Regions from separate parts of the Homo sapiens genome. Here region 1 is linked to region 2. Evidence: promoter capture Hi-C in human tissues and cell types (Jung and others, 2019). All regions are on one chromosome and are shown on one strand. Each heading gives the region's core, a stretch centred on a gene start or on the middle of the fragment in contact. The rest is flanking DNA. Distances are from core to core; before and after follow the strand shown.

The links. The method cuts DNA at HindIII sites, captures the fragments that hold promoters and counts their contacts. A contact is called where the count stands out against the background at its distance.
Region 1: a fragment that was not itself captured here is called in contact with the fragment with the promoter of ERRFI1 in region 2 in 1 of the 25 tissues and cell types used here (stomach).

Annotation. Positions count from the first base shown.
Region 1 is chr1:8,595,449-8,599,945 of GRCh38, reverse strand. All of the region lies in intron 4 of RERE (arginine-glutamic acid dipeptide repeats), which reads left to right. Among named protein-coding and RNA genes, the nearest start is that of SNORD128, 100 kb to the right of the region's middle. RefSeq lists an enhancer at 1,015-1,514. The HindIII fragment of the contact is 8,255 bases long and covers 1-4,497 here.
Region 2 is chr1:8,022,995-8,028,057 of GRCh38, reverse strand. ERRFI1 (ERBB receptor feedback inhibitor 1) reads left to right here and starts at 1,749. Exons shown (of 4, transcript NM_018948.4): 1 at 1,749-1,900. ERRFI1-DT (ERRFI1 divergent transcript) reads right to left here and starts at 1,565. Exons shown (of 3, transcript NR_185980.1): 1 at 637-1,565. RefSeq lists silencers at 1,664-1,713, 1,834-1,933. The HindIII fragment of the contact is 15,275 bases long and covers 1-5,063 here.

The DNA.
Region 1 (4,497 bases), core at 956-3,455, 570 kb before region 2:
TATGGTTACTGTGGTTTAAGTAGGCAGACACATCTGTGAGACCAGGAGTTTCTCTACAAATGGATGAGGAATGGCACAGAATCCTAGGTGACAGTTTAAGGATTGCATGGCAGAAAAGGCTCTGTGATTAAATTCTCTGATGTTGTCACTGAGCTGTAAGGCTGGAGATAAGACTGTCTCCTTCTGCTGAAAATAAGAATCAATACTCACTCCTTGATGGGCTAAACTATTAAAAAGAGCCCTTCTTACAATGTTTCATTATCTGGGATTTGCCTCAGCTGGTGATTTGTTGGTGGCACAGGGAGATTTGTGAGGCATTTCATATTAAAATTAGTCAGTAGCCGGTGAATCCCTTTAGATAATTCTCTTCCGTTTTACAGTGCTCCTGAATAGATTTGTGATTTATTTTTGCCTAAGTAGCTTTGTGTTTTTTTGGAATTATTAAAAGAGGGTTGGACATCTATACACTTTTTTTAACCTTGTTTTTCCTCATATTCTCTGTGTTTAACAGTTTAGTATTGGCCTTAGCAAAAAACATCAAATATATTTGCGTGGTACATTGACCTGACACTTGATTAACACACGTTGAACTTGATGTTTTTCCCGTATGAAGGAAGTTATACAAGAAGTTGGCCTTGCTTTTTTCGTTGATTTTAACCGTGGACAGGGTTGGGGTTGTTAATTGTTAGGTGGCTGGTAGGATTTCAGCTCCTCGATTGAAAAAGAAAAACAGCCCATCTCGTGAACCTCAGTGACCAAAAGAAATGGTCACTGTGTCATTTGGGTGCTTGTTGTGTCTCATCCCAGTGTAGTGTGATGGCTAGGGAGCAAAGAGAAGGCGAGCCTCTGAGGGTGACCCCTGCCCCGCTGTCCGCCAGGCTGGGAGAAGTTCTGCAGGAGGTCCTGTCATGGGCAGTGCTTACTGGGCTTGTCAGTTGGAACAGCACAATTGCAGTCTGCTGGGGGATGTTTGCAGCCTTCTGCCTTCTGTCTAAGGAGAGTTAAGACTCTCTACTTCAGTGTTTTGAAGTCAGTGCTGTGGTATATTTACATTCTGCTGGTGGAGACAGTACTGTTCATGAAAGATTTTTTGGTTCAGCCTCAGGAAGAGTATGGGCAAAGCTGTGTTAGAAGACGTTGATCTCTGTAGCAAAACCATGAGGTGAGGCTAAAGAACAGTGTAATCTCACATTTCTGCTTCCCTGAAAAACTCATCAGATTTAAAAATCCTTTTCTCTGGCATGGAGGGGAGAGGGTTGAGTGGGAAGGGAGACTGATTAACAAAGGACAGAAAGAGACAGAGGTCTTTGAAATCCAGATGGTCGACTTCTAGTAACAGAGCATTGGATGTGGTTTCTGTGTGTGGAATCCAGCCCTGGTGGGTGTCCAGCTGCCATGAGAGGCTGTGGAGTGAGGGAGGACCGTCCTGGAAGAAACAGAGTCAGGTCTGGTTCCTGTGTGAGAGTCATTGGAGAGAACCGTGCTGCCTCAGAACGGTGCAACCCACCCAGCACCCAGCTCCGTGACGTTGCTTCTGCTGGAGGGCCGGGAATGCCCTTCACGTCCCACCTGTCACCTGCTGGAATCAGCGCCATCTTCTCATAGGTGGTTAACTGTTTTCTCTTCTCTCCAGTGTGTTCCTGGTTGGATGTTTCCTGTTTCCCCTACCAGATTCACAGCTCGTATGTTCGTTCCTGCTTAGTCCATGGGAGGGAGTCTGGGAGCAAGAGCGAGGTGGCAGTACAGCAGGCTGGCTTGCTGTACGCTTTATAATTCCAGCGAGGAAATCTTTCGAATACACACTTGCATTCTGTCACAGTAATGTGGAGAACACATCTAGGGTTTTCAGCTTGTTTTATTCAGCTGCCTGGAGTAGTTAAAATTTTTCTGAGCATATTGCTTCCCCCAACCCCATGAGGCGGGAAAGAGATGTTTAGAGACATATTTCTCTTTTAGGAAGAAATGCAGAACCACTGAGACCTGGACAACTGTTGGTCTTATTTTCTGCTTGGATGAGATACCTTCCTGCTATTTCTTAAGGAAATATAGTTATCCATCCTCACAGTCACAGCTGAATACCAGGCAGTTGGTTGAGTAGTGAGTTCTTCTGGAAGATGGACGGGAAAACTGTCAACAGGATTGATCATTAAAAAAAAAAAATCCAGTGAAATGTTTATTTAAAAAATTAATTGAACTCCCTTGCTTTTAGAGACTTGACTATTGTCCAGATCAGATCTTGTTTCGAGTGTGCACATTCATATATAACAGGGCTGTGAATCAGACTGGGAAAGCCTGTGCTGCAGACATTCTTCCCTCCCCATGACAGCAAACACAGGACAGGGGGTTCTTAGCACGTTGTCAGATAAATTCTTTTCTATCTGCGTGTTTTAATTATGGAATTTTAATGTTGATTTTCATTCTGTTTTCCAATCCCATATATTTTTTCCTTCTCATTGGCTTATTGTGTGGGTTATCATTTCAGTGACCTGGTTTGACAAGAGGCAACACAAATTTCTTTGAGAATTCAAATGTCCATTTAAAAATTAGCATCAGGGGCTGGGCACAGTGGCTCACACCTGTAATCCTGGCACTTTGGGAGGCTGAGGCAGCGGGTGGATTGCTTGAGTTCAGGAGTTCGAGACCAGCCTGGGCAACATGGCAAAACCCCGTCACTATAAATAATATAAAAATTAGCTGGGCATGGTGGCACACACCTCTAGTCCCAGCTGCTTAGGAGGCTGAGGCCAGAGGGATCAGTTGAACCTGGGATGCTGAGGCTGCAGTGAGCCACGATCACGCCACTGCGCTCTGGCCTGGGTGACAAAGGAAGTCCCTGTCTCAAAAAAAAAAAAAAATCAGCATCAGTACAAATTAAATGATTAAGCATTTGCTGTTTTAACTACATATGAGAGAGATAACCCAGTTAACTTTTCCTTTTATTGGCTCGTGCCCTGGGCATCTGTCATGTTAATGCTTTTGACCTTTCTTAAAGATTATTAAAGGTGAAATTTCTTGCAGGTCAGGGGGATTTGTACTTGAACACCACCAGGTACCTTGTGGCAGCGCTGTTTCCAAAGATAGACACGCTGTGTGGTAAATCTTTTCAGTTAATTCATTAGAGAAAATTGTTTTCTGGCCAGGTGTGTTAGCTCACACCTATAATCCCAGCACTTTGGGGAGTTGGAGATGGGAGGATCACTTGAGGCCAGGAGTTTGAGACCAGCCCTGGCAACTTAGCAAGACCTTGTCTCTACCAGAAAAAAAAAAAAAAAAGCCAGACATGGTAGCTTGTGGCTATAGTCCCAACTACTTGGGAGGCCACAGACAAGAGAATTGCTTGAGCATAGGAGGTCCAGGTTATAGTGAGCTTATGATTGTACTACTATACCCCAGCCTGGGTAACAGAGCAAGACCCTTAGTTAAATTAAAAGAGAGAGAGAAAGAGTAATTTATTTTCCTACAGACTAGGTTTGTCTGTAAGAGAAAATATCAGTGCAATTCACTGGATTTTAATGTCATATTCTGACTTGTGTCTGAGAAACTGATTGGAGATGGTTTGTATTTGGGTCAGCTTTTTAAAAGACAAATCTTATGTCTCATGAATTAAGACTACATGTGTATACACAGCAAAGTGTTTATGAGGCAGAAAGCTTGCTCCTACCAGTTTCTAGAGGAGAGCTATCCTGTTTTTTGCTGCTGCTCAGCCAGCTGATTCTGAACATTCTTACTATTGGTTATTTTTGTACTCAGGGACAGCAAGCTTTTCCTATTAGGGGCCAGATAGTTTTTTCAGTTTTATTTTCTGTATGGCAACTACTCAACTTAGCCATAGACAATTTGTAAACAAATGAGCATGACTGTGTAGCCGTGTTTCAGTGAAACTTTATTTTACTGAATCACTTTATTTCTAGTGGATCAGTAGAGTCCAGGTGGTGTCTGGACATGGCCTGTGGGCCTGTAGTTTGCTGAAGCCTGAGCTGGTATAAACTTTTGGGGATTAGTGCCCTGAAGGAGTCACTCCAAAACTTACTTGCTTTCTTCATTGTAGCCTTGTGCCTGTGTAAGGTTTGAGGGTCATTTGCAGAGTTAGTGGGAATTGCATTTCTTCTTTCCTATATTATTTGAGTTGATGCATCCTTTTTTAAAATATATCTATATCTCTACCAATACATCCCTCTAACCACTCCTCCTTCCATTAATTGTTTTTTGTATAGTGTACTAGTGGATAGGTATTGTAAGAACTCATTTTTACTAATGATCTTTAAGGATTTTTATAACATGTTTAAATGCTAGGAGCAATTAAATATTGCTTAAACATGCTTTTTCATCTTTTTTCTTTGGCAGTTTGTTTCTGAAGGGAAAATATGACAGGAAAATATGTACATAATAAAATACAATTAAAATAATACATTAAAATAAATACATAAAATACATAAATACATAAAAATAAATACATTAAAATAATACATAAAAATAAAACATTAATAATAAAATACA
Region 2 (5,063 bases), core at 500-2,999:
CAGAAGAGCCATCAGAAAGGAAGCCAGATTTCTCTCTGCAAAACGTTCGTTTGTTTTGCAAGTGAGAGAGGGCAAAGATACTTCAGATTCTTTTTCTTTTTTTTTTCCTTTTCGTGCTTAAGGCCTTGAATTCAAAATTAGGCCTTTGAATTAAATTAAAAAGAATGTAAGTAAATAATAGTGGGGGAAAGGCAAATCATTTCATGGGGTGTAGAGTTAATAGTTAACCTGATAATAAGGCCAGAATCTCATTCCATATGTTAAACTACCCCAATTAGCTAGTGATCAGTGTCTAACTATCAGGCATTATTGCTGAAGTGCAAGCAGGGGCTCCAGGAGGCTAGAGGTCAGCGACAGGTCTCTGGGCTCTCCCAACAGAGGACCAGCCAGGGAATTTGTTCTAGTTAAAACTAGAGGGTTTCCGTCTGTTTGCTTTTTTTCTGACTTTAGTCACTCTTGGTTTGTTATCATTTGTATTATTTATTTTACGGTTAAACTATAAGCCTAAGTTGCATCACTGGCGCCCCGAGAAACCTCCTCCCACAGGCCCGCTGGGGCTTTGTCCTTGGGCATCCGTGGCCTCTCCAAAGCCAAAAGACGTCGGGGCCAGCTCAGGTCGCCTGAGTAAACACAAACCTGGGAAGCCGAGGGCCCCCTAAGTCAGTAGTGAGGGAGCTCCTCCTGGAAACCCACAGCGACCCTGAAGGGCTCAACCTCGAGCAGGACCTTTCCTCCATATTCCAACGCAGTCAGAGGAGCCCTGGGTTCCCCCCGCGTAGCCTCACCGCCCCACGCCGGCCCACTCTGTCCCCTCATCCTCCCTTGCTGTCCTACTCTGTCCCTCGCCATCCCTCACAGTCCCACACTGTCCCTCACCGCCCCTCACAGTACCTCACCGTCCACTGTCCCACACTGTCCCTTGACATCCTTCATTGTCCCTCACCGCCCCTCACAGTGCCTCACTGTCCACTGTCCCATACTGTCCCACACTGTCCCTTGCCATCCTTCACTGTCCGAGTCCCTCACAGTCCCAAAGTCCCTCACTGTCCCACAGTCCCTCACCGTCCCACACTGTCCCTCACTGTCCTACACAGTCCCTCACTGTCCCTCATCGTCCCGCACTGTCCCTCACCGTCCCACACCGTCTCTCATCGTCCCGCACTGTCCCACACAGTCGCTCACCGGTCCACACGGTCCCTCATCATCCCACACTATCCTTCACTGCCCCACACAGTCCCTAAGTGTCCCTCACTGTCCCTCCCACGCCGCAAGCCCAGTCGAGAGCGGCTCCCCTCTCCCCCTCCAGGGCTTCTTCGGCCCACACGGCCAGCGGCGGCCCGCGGAGAGGAAAAAACACACAATCTTGCCCGGAGCCTGAATTTATGGGAAATCCCGCGCGAAGCGCGATGTGCCCTCAGTTCGGGCAGGAACAGCGGCCGAGGCCCGGGTCGCCGCGGGCTTCTGAGGAAAGCTCGGCGTTGAGAGGCTCCCAGGGCTGCCGCACGGCTCAGGCAGAGGAGCGGAGCTGCGGCCGCGGTCAGCCCGGAGACGCCTCTCCGGGAGACAAAGCCGGCTCCCTGCAGCGCCGCGATACGCCACGGTGGGCCCGGCGCAACGCCTCGGCCACGGCATCGCCCCTTTAAGCGGCGCGCGCCCTGATTGGCTGCGGGAGGAGGCGGGGCGGGACGCGGCGACCTCACGGCCCGGCGGCCTATGCTATATATAGAGGCGGCGGCGGCAGCCGCGGCGACGGCGGTCCGGTGCGAGGCAGAGTGCTAGCGGGAGCGCGAGCCAGCAAGAGGCGCCTGCGCGATGTCCGGGCCCCTGAGCCCGCGGCGCTGAGCCAGCCGGGACGGACATGCGCGGGAGGGCGCCGCGGGGCAGCCGCCGCTCCTCCGGGGTAAGGGGCCTGGCGCGCTGAGGGGGTGGGGAGGGCCACGCAGCGCTCCGTTCCCTCAGGGGGCCCCGCGCCGGGCGCCGGGATCCAGGCGGCTCCCCGACGCGAGGGCGGGGGCGTGGAGGGCGCGGGGAGGGTCGCCGCGACGCGGAGTCTCTGGGATGGAGGGAGAGGCCGGCCGGTCGCTCGCGGGCTTCTCCCCATTGAGGTGTGGAGAGCGGGACCCTCCCCGGCGGCGCAGCCCGGGCCTGGGGACGCCGCGAAGTGCCGGCGCCCGCCGCCTTCTCCACGCCGGCTGTGGTCGTCGCGCGGCCCCTCGGCTGGCCGGGGCCATGCACCCGAGCGCCCGGGATACGTCCCCGCAGCACCGGGACCGCAGGAGCGGACGGGGGTTCGGGAGCGGCGAGCATGAAGGTCCTCGTCCCGCAGCCTGCGCTCGCGGGGTTGCCCGGCGGGGATGAGCGTCTTCGGGCCTGGGGGCTTGTTTGATTTTTTTTTTATTTGTAAAAAGGGGGTTGCGTTGTCTTGTTCACACCGTGTACCCGTAAATCCTGTCTTGAAAGCTGGGGTGGGAGGCTCGGCGATTGCTTGCGGTGGTTGGTACCGGTTCTCTGGCGGTCAGCCCCGCTCCCTCTGCCTAATCTCACAGCGACGATGGTAATGCCGAAATCAGTATTTAAAAATTCGTCTAAGCTGTTCTGAACTCTTCCTTCTCTCCTAGAAACGTGATTCTTTGCTCTGAGTGTCTTAAGTACGGCTTTGAATGGAATCGGACTGCAAAATTATGTGTTCAAGACGTGAATGCTTATTGGGAATTTTGTGTGTGTATTTATATGTATATCATAGCCCTGTACAAATTAGATGACTCTTTAACCGTGAATGGTGCTGTATTAGTGCTTGCTAAGTCTTTATTAGGATTTCATCATTGCTTGAAAGAAACCAGTCTCTTACCTGATAAAAATATGAATAGATGGTTAGTCATAAACTTAAGTCAGAATGGAGACTGTAGCTTTAAAAGAGATGTGTCGGTGACTTGAGGTACACCTGCAACACAGGTAGGGCAAGACTGGTTTCTAGGCAACTGTCAGGGGTGAAGAAAGGTGAGGTTAAAATGCCCTTTTTTTCCCTTCCAGAACAAATGTTCAACCTTTTATAAATGTGTAAGAATGCAGTGGGTACACACATTTGTTGAGACTGAACATCCCAAGTTCACCGTACCTATTTTTTTAACTGCATTTCTTTTCTTATATTTCTGTAATTACAATATACAGTTTTAAGTGAAATTTTATTTGAACAGAGACCAAAGACAGGCTAGGTATCAGCAAATGATCAAATTTTGCAAAGACCAAAATAAAAGAAGCTGGTTTCTTGCTAACATGCTGGCTATAATTGGTTACCAATATGTTATCAAGCAAGTTCTTTTCCAGATATTAGCAAGTTTGAAGAAAAATAACAAAGGATTTAGCATGGACTTCAGAAACTATTTGTCATTCCCTTTGCTTCAAGCAGAAGTTTATTTTCACCTGTGTGTTCCAGGGGACACTCGATAATAAGTGATAGAGGTCTTAGACTAACGATTTATAACCTGACAGATATATTAGATTGTAAACTCCTTAAGGGTAGGCACTCTGCCTTGTATAGCTTCTATCTTATGCAGCCTTGCACATAGTTGATGTTGATAAATAATTGCATGAAAGCATGTTTTACCTTTTAAGGCTCAGCAGGATTGGAGCAGTCATTGATAAGGGTTGGAAAGCAAATCTGTTTAATTTTTTTATGGCTGTTATGAAATGCCTGAATTATTGATATTTTTGACGGGTAAAACTGTTGTTTCAATCATCGGTTTTCCTACTTGCAGTTCACAATATATACTGGTCACTCTTTATAAGATTTAATTATGCTTGAGTTTTTGTGTGAAAATACCTCTTGACTGCTGCTTCTCAAAAGTTGAGCTAGATAATACTTCCTTTCTGCTGAAACTAATGGTGGCTTTTCAAAGCAATTTGCGTAAATTACAGGCACAATCTAACATGCTTGAAACTGACCTGATTGTCTGCATACCATCAGATTGCTTTAGAAAGGAGCAGAGGAAGGAAAGGAGGTGTCAGGGGTAACTCCAGGAATTGGAATGGCATAGGCTCCCTCTGCCAGAGAAACAACTCTGCTCTTGATCTAAATAAATTTGAATTGGTACCTCATCATCTGGATCCATTTGGATACATTTAGCATCCTTTGCGGGTGTCTGGCTATACAAAAGCTAATAAAGAACTCGCTACATAAACGCAGTCCAGTTGTGGTATTCTGGCATTGTTCACACAGCATAAACACGTGCTTTGTAAAGGTAGATGAGGCGAATGAGTTTGAGGGTCCTAAATGTAAGTTACTACCTTAACAATTAGTTTTAAGATAGGGAAAAGTTACTGAGGGGGGTTCAGATTTCAGAAGGTGGTGGGGAGGATTCTCAGATTTCAAGTCTTTGTTGATACTGTAGTCCAATTCCTCACACCATAAAATTGGGCAATATTACGAAAAGACCACTCTTCCAGGTCTCAATGAATGTGTCTTTAAAATGTGGGGCTTTTGGCCGGGCTCAGTGGCTCAGGCCTGTAATCTCAGCACTTTGGGAGGCCAAGGCGGGCAGATGGCTTGAGCCCAAGAGTATGAGACCAACCTGGGCAACATGGTGAAACCCTGTCACTACAAAAAAACACAAAAATTAGCTGGGTATGGTGGCACACGTCTGTAGTCCCAGCTACTCAGGAGGCTGAGGTGGGAGGATTGCTTGAGCCTGGGAGGCAGAGGTTGCAGTAAGCCAAGATCACACGACTGCACTACAGCCTGGTGACAGAGTGAGACTCTGTCTTTAAAAAATAAACAAACAAAAAAATGTGGGGCTTTGGCTACAGAAATGGAGCCCTTTTCAACTTGGAAACAATAGGAAGGTAAGGATTGGAAGACATTATCCAAAAGCTCTTATTCAATACCCCAGATGTGAAACTGGACTAGTTACAGATTGTTTTTTAAACAACTATTCGCTCAGTAGAATTGTCTTCTGACTCTTATCAGGGCTGCCTCTTTTTCAGCCTTTAGATTTCCATTTAAAAGTCACCTACTCAGAGAGGCCTTCCCAAACCACCTGTGTAAATATATGCTCCTCTGCCTCCTT